7 separate regions of the Homo sapiens genome follow, and regions 2, 3, 4, 5, 6 and 7 are each linked to region 1. Evidence: promoter capture Hi-C in 16 types of primary human blood cells and fetal thymus (Javierre and others, 2016). All regions are on one chromosome and are shown on one strand. The core of a region is centred on a gene start or on the middle of the fragment in contact, and the rest is flanking DNA. Distances in the headings are between cores, read along the strand shown. Region 1 holds the start of ZNF234 (zinc finger protein 234). Region 2 overlaps ZNF112 (zinc finger protein 112). Region 3 overlaps ZNF112 (zinc finger protein 112). Region 4 overlaps ZNF221 (zinc finger protein 221). Region 5 has its middle 7.0 kb from the start of ZNF155. Region 6 overlaps ZNF155 (zinc finger protein 155). Region 7 overlaps ZNF235 (zinc finger protein 235).

Region 1 (2,811 bases), core at 190-2,689:
CCATGGATAAGCAGATAAATAGAAAAACATTGAGAAATGTATAATAAAAATTTTGTAAAACATTTATAAGTAATATAAACATGGAACCACTAAAACAAAATGCATTAGAAATTTAACCATTACTATCTTTACATCCTGATTTCATAGGTAATTACAATTTTTGTATCTTCGTATTTCTGTAATTTCTGAATGCTTCACAGTGATACGGTTCTATTAGAATGTGAAATATTTGTAATAAATGAAACAAAATAGTTGACAGTTTTTAAAAACTGAGAAAACTCCAAGGCAATTAGCCTTGCTCTTAAGGTCCTTTAATCAAGTTCTAACTTACTTTCCCCACCTGAGTACAGCTAGTTCCTCTGCCTCAATGAGAATATATCCAAGAGATGATCAACTCGGGCTCTGACCCTGAATGCCTAGGTTCCAACCCAAGTTTCACCTCTTACTACTTGGATGACCAGTACCTCTCCACAGAGTCACGTTGCGGCTTAAACGTATCTAATTGTATAAATCCCCTAGAATTGAAGTTAGCAATTAAGGCTTAATTATTATAAATGCCCATGCCCTATTACACATGCTACAAAGATACAGTCTCTGTAAAAGAAAAATGACAAGTCACACTCACGTGGAGCTTTGCTTTCAGTAGCCAAGAAGTCAGTCCGCGCAGTCCTTTTTCAGGCTGGGGAAGGAGAAAGCTGTGAAACATCCTGACTGGGTCGCTGTCCCTGAGAAAAGTTAAATGCTCCCCTCCCTTCGTGGAAGTGGACGCAACCCTCGCCTGCCTAAAAAGAGGTCAGAAGGCGTCCGGGATCGTCCAGCGTCCTGCAGGGATCAGAGATAAGGGCTGAGGCCCCTGCTGCTGGAGCTCTGACCCCACCGGGGGACCTAACAGGTTTCGTGGGAAAGTAACAAGAAACCACCACTCACCAAGTGACAGGGACTGTTTGTGTTGTGTAACCTATTCCAGTTACCAAAACGATTCTACAAAGATGGTCCTAACGTCCCCATTTTAAAGAACAGCAAGGAGAGGCCCAGGGAGATTAACACGCCAACCTTGCACTGTAAAAAAGTGACTGCGCGCCTGGAGTGCAGGGAGGCGGAGTGGGCGAGCTCAGAGCCCCGGAAACCCTCAAACCAGGCGAGACGCGACCCAACCAAGTCCCAATGCCCCCCGCCTCCCGCCGCGGGACACGAGGGGAGCCCCAGCCCAAGAAGGCTCCGCTGACACAACAAAAGCCGCCGCCCTCGCCCCACCAAACCTCTGCTCTCCCACGAGGCTTCTTTTCCCATAACCGGACCACCAGGTCCCAGCGAGCCCCAATCTTAAGTCCCTGACATTAGGAGGGGCCCGCGAGTCGCGGAACTGGAAGAAACTACCGTGGAATGTGCCGTGACAATCGCCCCCTCTTCCCTGGAGCGGAAGTGCCCGCGACTCCACTGATTGGCGGGACTACATTTCCCAGAATTCCCCGGATCCCCCTGCGTGGGTCAAATGGACCACGACTCCACTGAGCGTTTGGATTACACTCAGAATGCTGAGGGAAAAACGTTCAGAATCTCACCCTTCAGGGAAAAGCGATGGGACTCCGCGGTGCTCCTTGCCTACGATTCCCGCACTGCCCATGGGGAACGAATCCTATATCGCTGAGCGCTTGGTAGGGAATGTGGACTGTGACCCTGAGAGTCGTCCTTCCCTCTGCCTGAGTCCTTGAGCGAAAATATTGAATAGACAGCAATTCCTGAAGTCTAAACGCCTCCCAGGACTACGGAGGATTATTGGAAAGAGAACAAGCGAGGAGATACAATCTTCAAGGACTAAATGGGGAATGACTTTTTAGGGGTCAGTAGATGATTGATGATTGATTACTATAAACTGATAATATGAGGCCAAAACTAAAAGTTGGAAGAGTGAGCAAGTACAATGGTTTGGGAGAGGCAATGAAGAACAAAGAAGGTGCCAGCCCCTACTCCAGACGCTGTGGTACCACTGGTTTGGCAGGAAAAACAATCATCATTTGAGAGGGCCAGTGGGGAAGCCCTGTCCTCATGGAAAAGCTATCTTCTTTCGTTTACACTTTTCATGGTATTATGTCTACTGAAGAGGTAAAAACACCAAATTTCAGAGAAGCTCTTAAATTGCCCAATACTTCAAAGCAAGTATAACTGGTGAAGCGCTTGGCATTGATGTCAGACACCCAATGCCTATGATTTATTTAATGCAGTAGCATTAAGGAGGATCCTATACGTGAAGGAACATATTTTATTTTCTTCCTTTATATTTTTTGGTTAAAATATCGTCATTATAGTTAGCAATTTGGAATCTGGCTTACATTGGTTGATACAAATAAATAATAGAATAAAGCAAAATCAGAAAAAAACCCATCTAAAATCTTTCTTCAAGATAACCAGGGGCTGGGTGCGGTGGCTCACGCCTGTAATCCCAGCACTTTGGGAAGGCCAAGGCGGGCGGACCATGAGGTCAAGAGTTCGAGACCAGCCAGGAGAACATGGTGAAAACCCATATCTACTAAGAATACAAAAATTAGCCGGGCATGGTGGTGCGTGCCTGTAATTCCAGCTACTCGGGAGACTGAGGTAGGAGAATCGCTTGAACCTGAGAGGCAGAGGTTGCAGTGAGCCGAGATCATGCCACTGCACTCCAGCCTGGGCGACAGAGCAAGACTCTGTCACGGAAAAAAAAAAAAAAAAAAAGATAACCAGATTTTTTTCTCCCCATAAACATACATTGGCCTATTGATATGGTTTAGATCTGTGTCCCCACCCAAATCTCATGTTGAAATGTAATCCCCA
Region 2 (2,811 bases), core at 145-2,644, 210 kb before region 1:
TTCGTTTTGTTGGGGTCCAGTAGCAACCGGGCAGTAGCTCTAGGGGAGGATAATCCACTTGCGGCGAAGGGCGGGATTTGTGTTATCTTTGAATGAGCCTTCTCCAGTGTGGGGCAGCTGGCGCATCCCCACTTAGCGCCGGGGGTCCAAGATCCTACATCGCAGGGACTGGGGATCTCCTGGGTTCTGTACTTCCCCAGCCCTTTCCCCTGACCATCAACCAGCTCTGCCACTTCCTAGCAGTATAATAACAGGCGAGTATCTTAATCTCTCTGCCTATGTTTCTTTTTCTTTAAAATGGTACTAGTATCTATCTAATGGAGTTCTTTTGAGAGTTAAATAAAAAGACTTGGAACAGAGCCTGACAGGTGGTAGAAGATGGGTCTCTTGTTATTAGCACTTTTTAATTTTCTGAGAAGGACTCAGTTCCCTGAAAGCTTCTGTGAACCCAGGATGGGGTCAGAGCTCCAGCTGCAGAGTATCCCTGGCCCTTTTCTGATCACTGAGAGATTTTTCTTTAGGACAGGATCACTCCTGGCTGTCTGGGTAGTCCATTGTAATTCATGCAGGAGTTCTGATTTCCCCCATCCTCCTTTCCTTCTTTAGCCTTGACTTCTTGAAAAAGGCTGCAGGGAGAAGGAGGGAATGACCCTTTGGCACTTGGCAGCGGAGTCTCACCTGAGTAGTACTTATCATCCTTTCTTTTCAGGGAAGACGATATTTCCATCATTCACTGGCAAATTCTGCTCGAAGATGCGCTGATATTTGTTCAATAAATGCAGAAACGGATGAGGGAGTACTTGGGCATGAGTAATAAAGATAGTATTTAAACATTTAGTGCTGATCATTCTAAGAGTTTGATATGAATTAACATCTTTAATCCTCACAAGAGCCCTTTGAGCCTGGGTTGGGTACCACCATTCCCATTTTAAAGATAAGCAAACAGACATAGAGCATAGGTGGTTTATCTTTAGGTCACCCAGGTGGTAAGAGCCTGAGCTGGGATTTGAATTCAAATAGTTTCCATCCATTGCCTTAGTTCTTGATGTGTTTAGTATCAGCTTCAGAACACATATTTGGATTTTACTAGAGGACCGTGAAAGCAAGGTTAATAAGCTTTGAATTTTTGATTTTTTAAAATTATCTGTAATTTAATTTTATTTGAAATATTTATAGTTCATATTCTGATTATATAAATTATTGCATATTGTAAAAGATTAAGAAAGTATAGAAAGTGTAAAAGAAAAAAATTATGCTAACCACAAGATATAACAGTAACAATATTAATATTTCAATGTTTTCCTCTTCCAGTAGACTTCTTTTTGGATTTTCACCCATGTTTAACCAAATAGGCTTCATAGCTTTTATTTTTCCCTTAAGTTTTTACTATGGAAATTTGTAAGCATAGCCAAATGTAATATGACTAAAATAATTCTGTGGAAGCGTCACCCAGCTTCAACCTTTGTTAACATTTGCCAGTCTTGTATCAACTCCCTGTCCCTTTTTTTTTTGTTTCAGTATTTTAAAGCAAATCTCTAACATCGACTTAGTATAATATCGTTTGATTGATTGTCATAATTGCCAAACGTTGATGATCATAAATTGCTTATATCCAAGACTTTGAAAGGGAAATGCCAGCAGCTACTCTAAGGTTTTCATTCGTTGAAGCTTACAGAATGGTCCTTACTTGAGGAAGCTAGGGGATGCAAGAGAATTGTACCTTGGAGAAGGATGGTGATGAATTTTGTGTTCCAGTATAGAGTTTGCCTTGCCTAAGTCTTATAGCTCTTTGTTTCTTATTTCTCTTTATCTAAATCCATACACTGAAAGTTCTTCTATTTCTGGGACCATGTCATACTTTTCTCCATGTGCCCAGCACATCGTACAAGGTTGTTAAGGGTTTATGGTTAGAGTAGCTACTCAACAGACAGCTGGCATCAAGGATTTGCAGTGTGGAATTGGAATTAGGTATCAAAATAGAATAGAAATAACCCCTGGATATATTCCTTAATCTCACTTAATATTGGTAGGTTATATAATCCACCAACTATTTCAGAGTATTGAAGAGTTGAAGAGCAATGATTGGTTATGTTTTGATAATCTAAAAAAATTCCTAAGAAACAAATTGTTAGAAATGGTAACAACATTTATAGACCATGCCTTATAACTGAGGTTGTGTTTCCAGGTTTTTAAAACAGGTTTTTAAAAAATGTTTTTACAGTGACATTGACTATTTTGTTATTTTTGGTATACAATTCTATTACAACACAGGCATAGTTTGTATAACGACTACCGTAGTCAGAAAAAGAACAGTTCCATCACCCCAAAAACTCCCCTCATGTCTTCCCTCATAATTACCCCTCACCATACCTGTAACCACTGGCAACTACCATAACCACTAAAACGCTATAGTTTTGTCTTTTTGAGAATGTCGTATAAATGAACTGATGCTATATGTTAACATTTGAGACCGGATTCTTTTACTCAGCAAATTGCTCTTGACATTCATCAAAGTTGTTATACGTATCAATACTTCATTTCTGTTTACTTCTGGTTAACAGAAGTGTCCACTTTATGGATGTATCACAGTTTATCTATTCTCTGGTTGATAGACTTTTTCCTCCACTTTTTGGCATTTATGAATAGAGCTGATATAAACATTCATGTACAGTTTTTTTTGTGCTTATTTCTGTAGGGTACGAAGCCAGGAGTGTGGTTACTGGATCATATGGGGAATGTATGTTTAACTTTATAAGATGCCAAACTGTAGTATCTGTACCATTTTGCATTCTCACTAATGATGTAGAAAGT
Region 3 (2,811 bases), core at 192-2,691, 190 kb before region 1:
TTTATGTGAATCCAAACATTTTGATAGTTTCTTGAGTCCTCAAGACTGACATCAAAAGCCACCGTCGCAACTGTGTAGCTAAGGATGCTGCTGGATAAGAAGAAAGAGTCAACAGAAAATTCAAAACAAATTAACTCATTTCTATAATGGTTTGTTTCCATCTTGGTTAAGATTCAGGGTCCTACATGGTACCCTTGAGAGTAGGAGTTAAACTTTTTCTCTAAAGGTCCAAGTAGTAAATACTTTAGATTTTCCTGGCCACATGTGCTCTTTGTCACAGTCTTTGTTTTTCTTACACCACTTTAAAAATGTAGAAAGCGTTCTTGGCTCCTGGGTTGTACAGAAACAGGCCGAGGCCATGCTGTGCCAGTCTACCTTCCTGATACTGTCAGCTGGAACATAATGTCACCTTTTAAAATACCTTAATTTTTTTACCTATACTAACATGATCATATACCTCATATTAATGTAAAAATTTGTTATGTACATTCTTGTTTTTAATATACTAATTTTTCTTCTTTGCCGTTACCTTGGGGAAATCCCTCCCAGTCTAAGATTATAACTCTTGTTTTTGTAATGGATGCATAATACTCTAATAAACAAACTAGTTACTTCCAAGATACAATGGGGCTACAGCCTTTGGGTAAATGCCCCCATTCTGAAAGGGAGAAATCAGGCAAAACAAAGGGGCTGCAGGCCCCATGCCAATCTGAAACCCAGCAGGGCAGTCATTAAATCTCAGAGTTCGAAAATAATCTCCTTTGACTCCATGTCTCACATCCAGGCATGCTGATGCAAGGGATGAGCTCCCAAGGCCTTGGGCATCTCTGCCTCTGTGGCTCTGCAGGGTATAGCCCACTTGGCTATTTTCATGAGCTGGCGTTGAGTGCCTGCATCTTTTCCAGGCACGTGGTGGAAGCTGTTGGTGGGTCTGGGGTCTGGAGGACGGTGGCCCTCTTCTCACAGCTCCACTAGGCAATGCCTCAGTGGGGACTCTGGGGGCTCCAACCCCACATTTCCCTTCTCCATTGACCTAGTAGAGGTTCTCCATGAGGGCTCCACCCCTGCAGCAGACTTCTGCCTGGACATCCAGGTGTTTCTATAAATCCTCTGAAATCTGGGCAGAGGTTCCCAAGCCTCAGCTCTTGCCCTCTGCACACCACAGGCCCAACAGTACGTGGAAGCTGCCAAGGCTTGGGGTTTGCACCCTCTGAAGCAATGGCCTGAGCTATACCTTGGCCCCTTTTAGCCATGGCTGGAACTGGAGCAGCTACAATGCAGGGTGCCGTGTCCTTCAGCTGTAGAAAACAGCAGGGCCCTGGGCCTGAGCCACAGAACTATTTTTCCCTCCTAGGCCTTCAGGCCTGTGGTAGGAGGGACTGTCATGACTGGCTCTGAAATGCCCTGGAGGCATTTTCCCCATTTTCTTGGCTATTAACATTCAGCTCCTCTTTACTTAGGCACATTTCTGCAGCCTTGAATTTCTCCCCAGAAAATTGGTTTTTCTTTTCTACCACATGATCAGGCTGCAAATTTTTCAAATTTTTATGCTCTGCTTCTTTTTTAAATATAAGTTCCAGTTTCAGATAATCTCTTTGCCCATAAATATGAGCATATGCTGTTAGAAGCAGCCAGACCACATCTTGAATGCTTTGCTGCTTAGAAATTTATTCCACCAGATAACCTAAATCATCCCTATCAAGTTCAAAGTTCCACAGATCTTTGGAGCAGAGGCATAATGCTGCCAGTCTCTTTGCTAAAGCATAGCACCAATGTTGGGAAAATGTATAAATGCATTTACAAACCTAAATATATCTAAATATATCACCAGTTCCAGTCCCCAATAACTTCCTCATCTCCATCTGAGACCACCTCAGCCTGGACTTCACTGTCCATATCACTATCCGTATTTTGTTCAAAACCATGTAACAATTCTCTAGGAGATTCCAAACTTTCCCTCATCTTCCTGTCTTCTTCTGAACCCTCCAAATTATTACAACCTCTGCCCATTACCTGTTTCCAAAGTGACTTCCACGTTTTCAGGTATCTTTATAGCAATGCCCCACTTTTCTGGTACCAATTTTCTTTATTCGTCCATTCTCCCATTGCTGTAAAGAACTACCTGAGACCAGGTAATTTATAAAGAAAAGAGGTTTAATTGACTCATGGTTCCATAGGCTATACAGGAAGCATGGCTGGGGAGGCCTCAGGAAACTTATAAATATGGCAGATGGTGAAGGGGAAGGAGGCATGTTTTACATGGCAGAGAAAGAGGAAGAGAAAGAGGGCAGGAAGTGCTACATGCTTTCAAACAACCAGATCTCTTGAGAACTCTGTCACGAGACAGCACTTGGGGGATGGTGCTAAACCATTAGAAAGCACCCCCATGATCCAATCACCTCCCACCAGGCCTCAACTCCAACACTGGGAATTACAATTCAACATGAGATTTGGGTGGGGACGCAGAGCGAAACCATATCAGTGGTTAAGAAAGGAGTCAGCACAGCAGCTTAAATATTTGTGATCAAAACATTGTCACCACTATACCTTGTATTGTCTCTATCTAAAAGCGAAGTAAGAACGGAAGGTGATCTCAGCCTGGGTAACCTGAGCTGATGTTCTCGCTTAGCTTTTATTAAAGAAGAAGAAGAAGAAGACATAAACAAAGATTTTTTTTCTCTGAGTTCATTATAGCTAACTATTAAATTCAAAGGAATTACTTGTCTTTATGACAAATATAGCACCTTTGTTATTGAATTGATCAATTTGGGTTGCTTGAATCATTGACTTTCTCAACCTCTAAGTGCTAAA
Region 4 (2,811 bases), core at 312-2,811, 190 kb after region 1:
AAGATTATGATGAGAAACCCCACTTGGAATTGCTTGGGGGCAGTAGTCAAGTAGATTAGTCAAGATAAAGATTGACAAGAGCCAGGGTCCTTTGGCTCAATCCCCTCCTGCTGACTCTCAGTGTTTCGCATAAGAGAGGATAAAATGGCTGGGGGGAGTGTTGGGGTGGGCAAGTGGTGGAAAACTTCCTGGGACTAGAACATAAAAATGTAAGGGTTGATAGGATTATGAAAGTTGGACTATTTAAACAGACTTTATATTAAGAAGTTGTATCTTCTTTACCTAAATGTTTTATGGGAATGGACATTGTATCTGACTAGGGAACGTTTCTCCTGACTAGCATTACAAAACAGAAGGCATATAAATCTACCCTTCAAGCAATATTAGTTGGACATGCTAAATGGGAACCAGTAAGATTGCCTGAGTCCGCACAGTGTAGAATAGAATCTGAAGTGCTGGTATGGACAAATTCTGTTTTGATAGCTCCATGTGGAATGTAGGCTGGGGCTTATGACAGAAGCCTGTGAGTGCCTTCTAGTGACAATTACTGAGACTTTGGACTAGAAAATTTTGACTTGAAGAGTATTTACTACCCCACTATGGGGCATTAACTGAGGCTAGCCCTATGACTGAAAGACATTAAAAATCTTGACACCTGAAATACCTATGCTCTCTTAGGTAATGTTAGGAAAACATTCTAATGGGGATGGCAGTGCCCAGAAGAGTTCCATAATAAAATGGAAATAGTTTATACAGAGTCATGCTACCTGGAGACTGACTCTGGAACTGTGTGAGAAGCTATAAACAACTCTCAACTGACCAGCAAAGAGCTGCTCATTTTGTGAATGGCAGTTCCAAAGTGAATGAACATATGATTTGGAAGGATGCCACCCTGATCAAAGAAGGTAAAAACATATCAGCTCAATGCACTGAATTACACGCTGTTTTCCTAGCAGTGATGAAAAACTGAATGGTGGTAGAAACCCACTTTGGGATCTTTACTGACTCATGGGCAGTGGCAAATGGCCTGGCCATACACTCAGGCAGAAGAGCAGTGGAGATCTGGTCTATTAAAGGGGATGCCCATGTGAGGCATGAACTTACAGAAATTTGAAGTAGGGGGTGTGCATTAAAGTAGGACCTGTTGATGCTCATTGGCAGAGCCCCCTTCAGGTTTTGAATCAACAAGCAGATATCCCCATGTGCTCCCTTGCAGTGGCTGCCTGGGTCCGTGAAATTAGTGGATATGGGAGTAGTGCAGCAGTGCAAAGATGGGCTAAATCGAGACATGTTCTTGCACCCTCTGAGGCACAAAATGCAGATGAAAACTGTTCTGTTTGTCAGCAAAAATGACACAGTGAAGATGGCTGTGAAACAGATTCCCTGGTGGGAAGGACCTGAGTGTAGCTGGCAAGTGATGCTGGTAGCCCTGGGAGGCTACAGATGGGTCTTGACAGCAGTAGACACTGATTCTTGACCGGGTTTTGCTTATATGGTGGAAGATCCAAATGTTCAGAGTGTTTTTAAAAAAAAAGAAGAAAGAAGACCAAGAAACACACTAGATATAGAGCCCACAATGTCCAGCAATGAATAGAGAGCGATCCTCCTCAGAGTAATAGTTTGATAGGGAAGTGGAACAGGCAATTAAAACATTGATTGTCTAAAACAAAGAGATAAAAGCATCAGGGCTGGCTTACACACCTTCGCAAGTGTGTGCTCATACCCAATGTCAGTGGGATAGCAATTTCTCTATTTTTCTGGTTGATCTGGGGAAGACCTGGTGGGAAAGGAGGCTGGGATGACTATGCAATTCTTGCCAAGGGAGGAGAACACCAGTATAATGATTACACTTTTTTTTTTCCTTCTTCCCCATATTACCTCAATTTTTTTCCCCATACCTGATGTAGTGGTCACAGGATCAGGGCTACAACTACAAGTGTTGGAAGCAGGGATGATTCCTAAGCAAGAAACCATAACTAAATTTCTAAAACTTGTGTCAGAATTCCTGAGGGCCCGATGGGGATGGGTTGTGCCTTCACCCCATCTGGCAAAATTGGGCTAACAGTGAATATAACTGTATTTCCTGATGGTAAAAACAGTCCACTATTCTGCACCTAAGTAACCTTACCCTATCTGAATGGAGGTGAACTGAGGGGGAAGCATTTGCTAGACTAGTATTGCTGTCTGCAGTCTAGACCGGCACAGTGGTGATTCTAATGTCCCTTCCAAAGGTGAAAAAGTCTGTGTATTAATGGAAAGAAGGAGAAACGGTAGCTGAGGGTAAAGGAATGAATAAATGAGTTATGAATTGAGAGAACTCCAGTAGTATATTAATACCTTAAGATGACACTGTCTCTTAGCTCAATTACACCAGATGCCTGAAATGGTGAAGCTATATGTTTTGCTAAGACCACTCCTACTTTTAGAACCGTATATCAAATGGAAGCCAGCAAACCTGAGTGGCTTCACCCACTGGACTGGACTTATTAATGTGACTAAATGGGATTCTGATAATGTGGTGGTATCTTTTGAGTTGCATATCCTTTTTTTTTTTTTTTTTTTTTTGAGACGGAGTCTCACTCTGTCTCGCCCAGGCTGGAGTACAGTGGGGCAATCTTTGCTCACTGCAGCCTTTGCCTCCCAGGTTCAGGTGTTTCTCCTGTCTCAGCCTCCCGAGTAGCTGGGACTACAGGCATGTGCCACCATACCTGGCTAATTTTCTATTTTTTGTAGAGATGGGGTTTCCCCATGTTAGCCAGGCTGGTCTCGAACTCCTGACCTCAGGTGATCCACCCACCTCAGCCTCCCAAA
Region 5 (2,811 bases), core at 118-2,617, 160 kb after region 1:
GCTGTTAATATCATCCTGTGACCAATTTGAGGACCCAGACACACACGAGGGTAGATGGAAGGCCTACCTATGGTATTTTTTATTATAAAAATATTTAAAAATGTAATCTGATGAATTTTCTTTTACAAATAATTATCTTAGAGATGAACTATTATCTGGTGATAGTTTAAGAAAACCCCACAAGACTGCAGGCCCTACTTTTCTGATACCACATGCACAAAAAGTTAACATAGCAGGCATAAGTCAGACTGCTAACTTTAAAAAGAGCTGTTTGCAACACTGGCCTTTGGCTGGAGTCAAGGAACATGGGGTTTGAGAGAGTTACCACCTTTCCATAATGGGTAGGAGTGGTCACTGCGCCTAAACTCTACAATGCAGCTTATTTGGAACACTTGCTCTTCTTCTTAGAGTTGGGAATCTTGATATGTACTAGACACATACCTACATAATCAATCTCAATAAGAACCTGTGCTGCTGGTTGCTAATGAGCTTCCATTGTAGACATTTCACAAGTAGTATCACAATTCAATGCTAGAGGAGTTGAGTCTTATGTAACACCATGCAGAGAGGACTCTGGTAAGCTTGCTTCTGGTTTCCTCTAGACAACTGCCCATGAGCCATTTCCCTTTACAGATTCTGTTTTGTATCTTGTCACTGTAATATTGTTATAAGTACAACTATAGTCTCAGTTATTTTAGTAAATCACAGAACCCAGAGGTGGTCTTAGGGACCTCCAATCTACTATCCAAACTGGCACAGCATGAATATAGCATCATGAAAATACATTATTTAGAAAATTAATTATGAAAAGCTTACTATCTCAACTAGACACTTTGAAGAATGCCTTTTAACCTAATACAGTTAAGTTACACCATGGTGTATAACTATGAATTAGCACCCAAATCAGCTCTTTGTCCGAGCTGGTTCCACACACTAAGAGACTGCTGCTGTCATGTTAAGTTCCCTGATCATGCGCATTTGTTCTTCAAAGAATCTGTTTTTTTAACCTCCACAACTATATATACCCACATTATTTCTGTCACTAGGATTTGCTTGCTTCCTGACTTATGCCTAAAGCAGAATCACACACATTAGTTATGAAGGCAGTTGACCACACTCATCAATCTGTATATCCAGGTGACCAGATACATTTTTTTATTTTGAAATATGACTTCCACATCCCTATTCCTTAATTTTGAACTGTCATATGACAATGTAGAGCAATCTTATTCAGAGTCCTTATAGGTAAGTGATTAATATTAATAATTTTTCAAATTTTTCATCACATAACTGCTTTGGTAAAATTGGTGTTCAATGAGAAATTTAAAATGCATAAAATTATAAAATGAAAAATTCCAGCAAATACTCATTGCCAGGGAAAATGTCAGAATATTCATCCACAAATGATGTACATACACACTAAAAATAACCAAATAAACAAACCCAGAAACACAAAGACACTTAGTTTGTTATGAAGGCTACAATAGGATTTCCCTAAGGCATACATTATGCTCTTCTCTTTTTATTGTACATCTATGTCATCATTTTACTGGCTTTGTGTTTTTATATTAATAAATGCACTTCATACAAATTCCTGTGGTTGAACACTTGTTCTTTCCATTTTAAAATTAAGTGACATCATCCATGTAATCTACTAATTTTCAGAGTTTTAATGTTGTAATTTTCTATCCTATGATTTCCAGGTTGAACAGTTGTACCTTATACATACTGCCATATACCACTTTCCAAAAAACGTATTCTTATGGCCAACAATAAAGAAGAGTATGTAAAGGTTACTCTTGCTCCAATAATGAATATGTATGATGAAATCACCAAACTCCAACAAATGTTCTTGGTAGTTCATAGAGATGGGAAGAAATACTGAGGTTGCCAAAAATTTTCCTTCAAATTTGGCAAAGCTTCTACCTGAGAAGTCTGATAAAAGAAATAACTACAGCAATTAGAAGGCAATCATATTAAAGCCTGCACAGAAACGCAGAATCACAAATCATGATCAATTCAAAACTTATTAGGAATTTTTTTTTAGATGAAGTCTCGCTCTGTTGCCCAGGCTGGAGTACAGTGGCACAATCTCAGCTCACTGCAACCTCCGCCTCCCAGGCTCAAGCGATTCTCATGCCTCAGCCTCTCAGGTAGCTGGGATTACAGGCACACACCACCACACCAGCTAATTTTTGTATTTTTAGTAGAGACGGGGTTTTGCCATGTTGACCAGGCTGATCTCGAACCCATGGCCTCAAGTGATCCACCTGCCTCAGCCTCCCAAAGTGCTGGGATTACAGGAGTGAGCCACCACACCTGGCCTTTACCAGAAAAATTTTTGTCAATGTAACTACATCTGCCACATTAGAAATGTTACTGTGGGCTGGGTGTGGTGGCTCATGCCTATAATTCAAGCACTTTGGGAGGCTGAGGTAGGAGGATTGCCTGAGCCTAGAAGTTCAAGGCCAGCCAAGCAACATGGTGAGACTGTCTCTATTCCTTAAAAATAATTTTTTAAAAGAAAAAAGTGTTTACTGTGAATCCTGCCTTAAAATTGTTGAAAAAACTTAATTGTACAATATGCAGTGGTCTGTTATTACAAAATCTTTTCACCTCATATTGTGAGAAAAGTGACAAATGATTGTTAAATTTATACTATATACAATCAAGGGAACACTAGACAGAGTCCCAAATAATAAGAATCCGACTTGAGAACAGAGGATGAGGAGAAGCCAGGAGCCAAGTGGAATAAGATAATAATCAAAATAAAGGTCTACATTGCAGTGCTGAGTGTACCCTGCATTTCAA
Region 6 (2,811 bases), core at 107-2,606, 150 kb after region 1:
CTGATTTCTGGTTTGCATGAGGCCAATTCAGAACCACATCATGTCTCACATGTGAAATCCTTGATAGAAATAATAGACTTAATTTAAAAATATGATATACATTTAACTTGTTACTATTTGTAATGAATTTCCTAGTCAGTCCAAAATCTTGCATGATAAATTATGAAAATAAAAATTTATGTACATAATGAAATATGAATCAAAAGGAACTTTAAGGAAAAGCAATAACTTAATCAACACTTTGTATATTTGTGTTTATGCTGTATATCCTTATAAAGAAGTTAAACTAGGCCAGGTGCGGTGGCTCAAGCCTTTAATCCCAGCACTTTGGGATTGATCACTGGAGTCCAGCAGTTCGAGACCAGCCTGGGCAATATAGCAAAACCCTGTCCCTACTAAAAATACATAAATTAGCCAGGTGTGGTCGTGCACTCTGTAGTCCCAGCTACTTGGGAAGCTGAGGTGGAAGAATTGCTTGAGCCTGGGAGGTGGAAGTTGCAGTGAGCCCTGGGTGACAGAGCGAGACCCTGTCTCAAAAAAAAAAAAAAAAAAAAGTGCTGGATGCAGTGGCTCACACCTGTAATCCCAGCATTTTGGGAGGCTGAAGTGGGCAGATCACTTGAGGTCAGGAGTTCAAGACCAGCCTGGCCTTGAAACCCCGTCTCTGCTAAAAATACAAAAATTAGCCACGTGTGGTGGCACATGCCTGTAGTCCCAGCTACTCAGGAGGCTGAGGCAGGAGAATTGCTTAAACCTGGAAGGCAGAGGTTGCAGTGAGCTGAGATTGAGATCGTGCCACTGCACTCCAACCTGGGAGATAGAGCGAGACTCTGCCTCAAAAAAAAAAAAAAAGTTAACCTAACCAAAAAGAGGTTGGGACTTTGTCCTCAGCATCTGAGAGGTAATCTCTAGGATCCTGAAGTGTCATACCTCAGGAGAGTGTCTTGGTTGGCTTGAAGGCAATCACTGGATCACTCTGCATAGTGAAACAATATAATTTATGGTTGCAACTGGCAAATCCTTTGGGGGATTGGGAGTGGGAGATGCTCCTCTCCATGTCAGAAATAAGCAATGTGATTTAAGGTGGAGCTTTAGGTCACAGAGAGTTAGTGGACTAGGAGACTGATTAACCACCTAGGAATCATCAATCAATACTGGCTCCATAATGGAGACCCAATAATTACTCTGGATCCCAGCACTTAGGTGAGTTTCTGTGACTGACAGTACTTTGAGTCTAAGTCATACCTTAATCCTGGGAATGTAACACATCCTACTCTGCCAGGAGAATACAATAGAAGGTCCGCATTTGGTTATTCTCATCTGGACCCTGTTTTATTTGGTTTTTCTCTAAGTATAATATACATGTTTTCCCTGTAAAAATCAGTCAGTGAGAATAAAAGTATTCAGTGAGTTCTGAGAGTTTAGAAAATTATTGAATGCAAAGGCAGTTTTGAAAACCTCCTGAATTTGCACTTGGTGTGAAGTGAGAGCAGTTCTCTGTAAAATGTCTCAGTAAATTTTGTAGTTGGTTGAACTCTGCACAACATTAAACATCAAACACTTCATAGTGTTTCTATGTACACATTCAAAGTATCCCTGCACAAGAATTTTGCACAGCATATGTAAAATACTTCATCTTACTTTTCTGTATTGATGTGGAGAGTAACTTGGTTATCTGAAGGAGTACAGAGACACACAACTACAGTTTTGAGGGGAATCTGAAAGGCTGTCCTTCCAGGGGTCCACAAAGGGGGATGCTCCTGAGCAGACAATCAAAAATGTGAAGAATCACATGAAATGAAAAGAAAGCCTATGATGCAGATAAATAGGACTTTATAACTTTTTATATTGAAGACTACACATTAGTGAGCTATGAAATACAGTTAAACTCTGCAATAAACATTTACAAAAAAGAACTGGAATGTAAATTATCACAGCATCATGACAAGCAGGAAAGTGGTCATTCCATGAAATGCCTCCTAGAGTCACTCATACACATCTACAGGCATGAAAAATGTTTGTCCGGGTTATATTGAAATATGTGCTTCTTACTATGGCTCATGCTTGCAAAACATTCAAAACTTTGTCAGGATAATACCAAGTCCTGAATTAAGTAAATTCTTCCAATGGAAAGTTAAGTTGCAGAGGTTGAATCTTGGAAAGGATTTATAGGTAAGTGTGTACCTATTGGTATACAGTGGTACGTAGATATATTTAATACACTGTCACTTATAAATAAGAGGTCTTGGCTGGGCATGGTGGCTCACATTTGTAATCCCAGCACTTTGGGAGGCCGAGGCGGGTGGATCACCTGAGGTCAGGAGTTCGAGACCAGCCTGGCCAATGTGGTGAAACCCCATCTCTACTAAAAATACAAAAATTAGCTGGGTGTGGTGGTGGGCACCTGTAATTCCAGCTACTTATGAGGGTGAGGCAGGAGAATCACTTGAACCTGGGAGGCGGAGGTCGCTGTGAGCCGAGATTGCACCATTGCACTCCAGGCTGGGTGACGAGCGAAACTGCATCTCAAAAATAAATTAAATTAATAAGAAATCTTTAAGGAGAAAGGAGAATCTTCAGGATGTTTCTAGTTTTAGAGGGCAGTTTCCCAATTCCTAACAGGTCATAAAGTTCACCAGTTCAAAATACAGCACTAAATCTATAAAAATCAAGAAAAAATTGTGTAAAATCTATATCCTTTAATGTTTTTGAAAACAAAACTTGTATGACATAAAGATGCAGAAATAGACACATTTATGAAGAAAGAGGACCAGAAATAGAGTAAATGTTCAGCTACATGACTTGTGTCCC
Region 7 (2,811 bases), core at 186-2,685, 150 kb before region 1:
CTGGAGAATACACACAGGCAGCAAGACTCATACTCAGAAAAGACCCAAGATACACCTTAACCATACCCTGGGCTGATCTCAAATTTTCTATCTTAAATATGGCTTTTTAAAACATTTGGTGTTCTCTTGGTTGCAGCTGCTTTTCAGAGTTCCTATAAATTTATTTCAGCCAGTCTAGTTGTTTTTTTGACGTTTCCATGGGGAAAATGAGAGCTTAGATCTTAATTCTCTACTTTGCTAATGTCAGTCTCTTGGTCCTTTATTCCTTATTCTCTCTATCCTTTCAGGAGACAGGAATCAAAATGAGATGGCAACTCTTCACAAAGCAGGATTAAGGTGCTTTTCACTGGGAGAGCTTTCATGCTGGCAAATCAAGAGACACATTGCGAGCAAATTAGCCAGAAGTCAAGACTCCATGATAAATATTGAAGGAAAGAGCTCTCAGTTCCCCAAGCACCATGATTCCCCCTGTCAAGTGGGAGCAGGAGAATCTATTCAAGCTTCTGTGGATGACAACTGTCTAGTGAATCACATAGGGGATCATTCCAGTATCATTGAAAATCAAGAATTTCCAACTGGGAAAGTTCCGAATTCTTGGAGTAAAATATATCTGAATGAGACACAGAATTATCAGAGAAGTTGTAAGCAGACTCAGATGAAAAACAAACTATGTATATTTGCTCCATATGTTGACATTTTCAGTTGTATTTCACACCACCATGATGATAATATAGTGCACAAAAGAGATAAAGTTCATAGCAATAGTGATTGTGGTAAAGATACCCTAAAGGTATCACCTCTTACCCAGCGTAGTATTCACACAGGACAGAAAACCTACCAGGGTAATGAATGTGAAGAAGCCTTCAATGATAGCTCCAGTCTTGAACTTCATAAACAGGTACACTTGGGAAAGAAGTCTCCAGCGTGTAGTACACATGAGAAGGACACCAGTTATAGCTCAGGTATTCCTGTTCAACAAAGTGTTCGTACTGGGAAAAAACGCTATTGGTGTCATGAATGTGGTAAAGGTTTCAGTCAGAGCTCAAATCTGCAAACTCATCAGAGAGTCCACACAGGGGAGAAACCCTATACATGCCACGAGTGTGGTAAGAGCTTTAATCAGAGCTCACATCTTTATGCTCATTTGCCTATTCACACAGGAGAGAAGCCCTATAGATGTGACAGTTGTGGGAAGGGCTTCAGTCGTAGCACAGATCTTAACATTCATTGCAGAGTTCACACTGGAGAGAAACCTTATAAATGTGAGGTGTGTGGGAAGGGCTTCACTCAGAGATCACATCTTCAGGCCCATGAAAGAATTCACACTGGAGAGAAACCATATAAATGTGGGGATTGTGGTAAACGCTTTAGTTGTAGCTCAAATCTTCATACCCATCAGAGAGTCCACACTGAAGAAAAACCATACAAATGTGATGAGTGTGGTAAGTGCTTTAGTTTGAGCTTTAATCTTCATAGTCATCAACGAGTCCACACAGGAGAAAAACCATATAAATGTGAAGAGTGTGGTAAGGGTTTTAGTTCAGCCTCAAGTTTCCAGAGCCATCAGAGGGTCCATACAGGAGAGAAACCATTTCGATGCAACGTGTGTGGGAAAGGCTTCAGTCAGAGTTCATACTTTCAAGCACATCAGAGAGTCCACACTGGAGAAAAACCATACAAATGTGAAGTGTGTGGGAAGCGCTTCAATTGGAGCTTGAATCTTCACAATCATCAGAGAGTCCACACCGGAGAGAAACCCTACAAATGTGAAGAGTGTGGTAAGGGTTTCAGTCAGGCTTCAAATCTTCAAGCCCATCAGAGCGTCCACACTGGGGAAAAACCATTCAAGTGTGATGCATGTCAGAAGCGATTCAGTCAGGCCTCACACCTTCAAGCCCATCAGAGAGTCCACACCGGAGAGAAACCATATAAATGTGACACTTGTGGTAAGGCCTTCAGCCAGAGGTCAAATCTTCAAGTCCATCAGATAATTCACACTGGAGAGAAACCATTTAAATGTGAGGAATGTGGGAAAGAATTCAGTTGGAGTGCTGGTCTCAGTGCCCATCAGAGGGTCCACACAGGAGAGAAACCCTATACGTGTCAGCAGTGTGGGAAGGGCTTCAGTCAGGCCTCACATTTTCACACACACCAGAGAGTCCACACTGGAGAGAGGCCTTACATATGTGATGTCTGTTGTAAGGGCTTCAGTCAGAGGTCACATCTCATCTACCATCAGAGAGTCCACACTGGAGGGAATCTGTAGAAATGAGAGGTGTGGTTCAGCCTTCAGTTAGAGCTCACATCTTTGTCTCCGTTGGGAAGTCCATGCTGATGATTGTGAAAAGTTCCTTTAAAACTAGAAGCTTCAAAGAATCTTGACAGGAAAGAAGTCTCTCAAATGCTGTGTTTTAGACTTGGTTAGGACATGAATTCTTTACAAACGTCATATTTCACAGATGCGAGAAAACTTTGTTCTGTAAATATGATCAGTGTTTATATCAGAGTACCAGGTGTCCCGGTTCTCAAGATGTAACACAGCAGAAAAGTCTTGTCGGAGTCTGCACAGGAGAGAGGCCTTCCTTTAACAAAAGTATGATTGACAGAAAAAATGGATGTCAACTAAAATGTAACCTCTATGTAAGGAGGTGTTTTTCACCACTCTATCTCTACCATGTAGAATTGTGCTTGGCTCATAATAGGGCCCAGCAATTACTGAAGAAAGTGAAGAAAATACCTATAATTAGGACAAATACTTGAAAATTCTAGTCTGTTTTCTACTCTAAATTTATATTAATTTATATTCAAAAG

What was found. Contacts are between HindIII fragments. The CHiCAGO score rates a contact against its expected background, and 5 or more counts as called.
Region 2: a contact is called between a fragment that was not itself captured here and the fragment with the promoter of ZNF234 in region 1, in 1 of 17 cell types (naive CD8 T cells). The highest score is 5.5, in naive CD8 T cells.
Region 3: a contact is called between a fragment that was not itself captured here and the fragment with the promoter of ZNF234 in region 1, in 1 of 17 cell types (naive B cells). The highest score is 5.9, in naive B cells.
Region 4: a fragment that was not itself captured here is called in contact with the fragment with the promoter of ZNF234 in region 1 in 11 of 17 cell types (M2 macrophages, neutrophils, total CD8 T cells and 8 more); the score reaches 11.1 in M2 macrophages.
Region 5: a contact is called between a fragment that was not itself captured here and the fragment with the promoter of ZNF234 in region 1, in 14 of 17 cell types (activated CD4 T cells, non-activated CD4 T cells, total CD4 T cells and 11 more). The highest score is 8.3, in activated CD4 T cells.
Region 6: a contact is called between a fragment that was not itself captured here and the fragment with the promoter of ZNF234 in region 1, in 1 of 17 cell types (activated CD4 T cells). The highest score is 5.6, in activated CD4 T cells.
Region 7: a fragment that was not itself captured here is called in contact with the fragment with the promoter of ZNF234 in region 1 in 11 of 17 cell types (naive CD8 T cells, M1 macrophages, activated CD4 T cells and 8 more); the score reaches 9.0 in naive CD8 T cells.

Annotation. Positions count from the first base shown.
Region 1 is chr19:44,140,182-44,142,992 of GRCh38, reverse strand. ZNF234 (zinc finger protein 234) reads right to left here and starts at 1,439. Exons shown (of 6, transcript NM_006630.3): 1 at 1,260-1,439; 2 at 626-679. RefSeq lists enhancers at 952-1,001, 667-1,257, 1,012-1,411. The HindIII fragment of the contact is 9,485 bases long and covers 1-2,811 here.
Region 2 is chr19:44,353,768-44,356,578 of GRCh38, reverse strand. The region is part of intron 1 of ZNF112 (zinc finger protein 112); the gene reads left to right. Among named protein-coding and RNA genes, the nearest start is that of ZNF112, 1.5 kb to the left of the region's middle. RefSeq lists an enhancer at 1-90. The HindIII fragment of the contact is 552 bases long and covers 1,119-1,670 here.
Region 3 is chr19:44,333,112-44,335,922 of GRCh38, reverse strand. The region is part of intron 3 of ZNF112 (zinc finger protein 112); the gene reads left to right. Among named protein-coding and RNA genes, the nearest start is that of ZNF112, 22 kb to the left of the region's middle. The HindIII fragment of the contact is 4,114 bases long and covers 1-2,811 here.
Region 4 is chr19:43,953,838-43,956,648 of GRCh38, reverse strand. All of the region lies in intron 1 of ZNF221 (zinc finger protein 221), which reads right to left. Among named protein-coding and RNA genes, the nearest start is that of ZNF221, 4.0 kb to the right of the region's middle. The HindIII fragment of the contact is 3,666 bases long and covers 1-2,811 here.
Region 5 is chr19:43,975,770-43,978,580 of GRCh38, reverse strand. It overlaps a transcript of ZNF221 not described here. Among named protein-coding and RNA genes, the nearest start is that of ZNF155, 7.0 kb to the left of the region's middle. The HindIII fragment of the contact is 1,108 bases long and covers 814-1,921 here.
Region 6 is chr19:43,993,150-43,995,960 of GRCh38, reverse strand. All of the region lies in intron 4 of ZNF155 (zinc finger protein 155), which reads right to left. Among named protein-coding and RNA genes, the nearest start is that of ZNF230-DT, 8.3 kb to the left of the region's middle. The HindIII fragment of the contact is 4,894 bases long and covers 1-2,811 here.
Region 7 is chr19:44,286,673-44,289,483 of GRCh38, reverse strand. ZNF235 (zinc finger protein 235) reads left to right here. Exons shown (of 5, transcript NM_004234.4): 5 at 288-2,811. The coding sequence ends at 2,266. Among named protein-coding and RNA genes, the nearest start is that of ZNF235, 17 kb to the left of the region's middle. The HindIII fragment of the contact is 1,866 bases long and covers 503-2,368 here.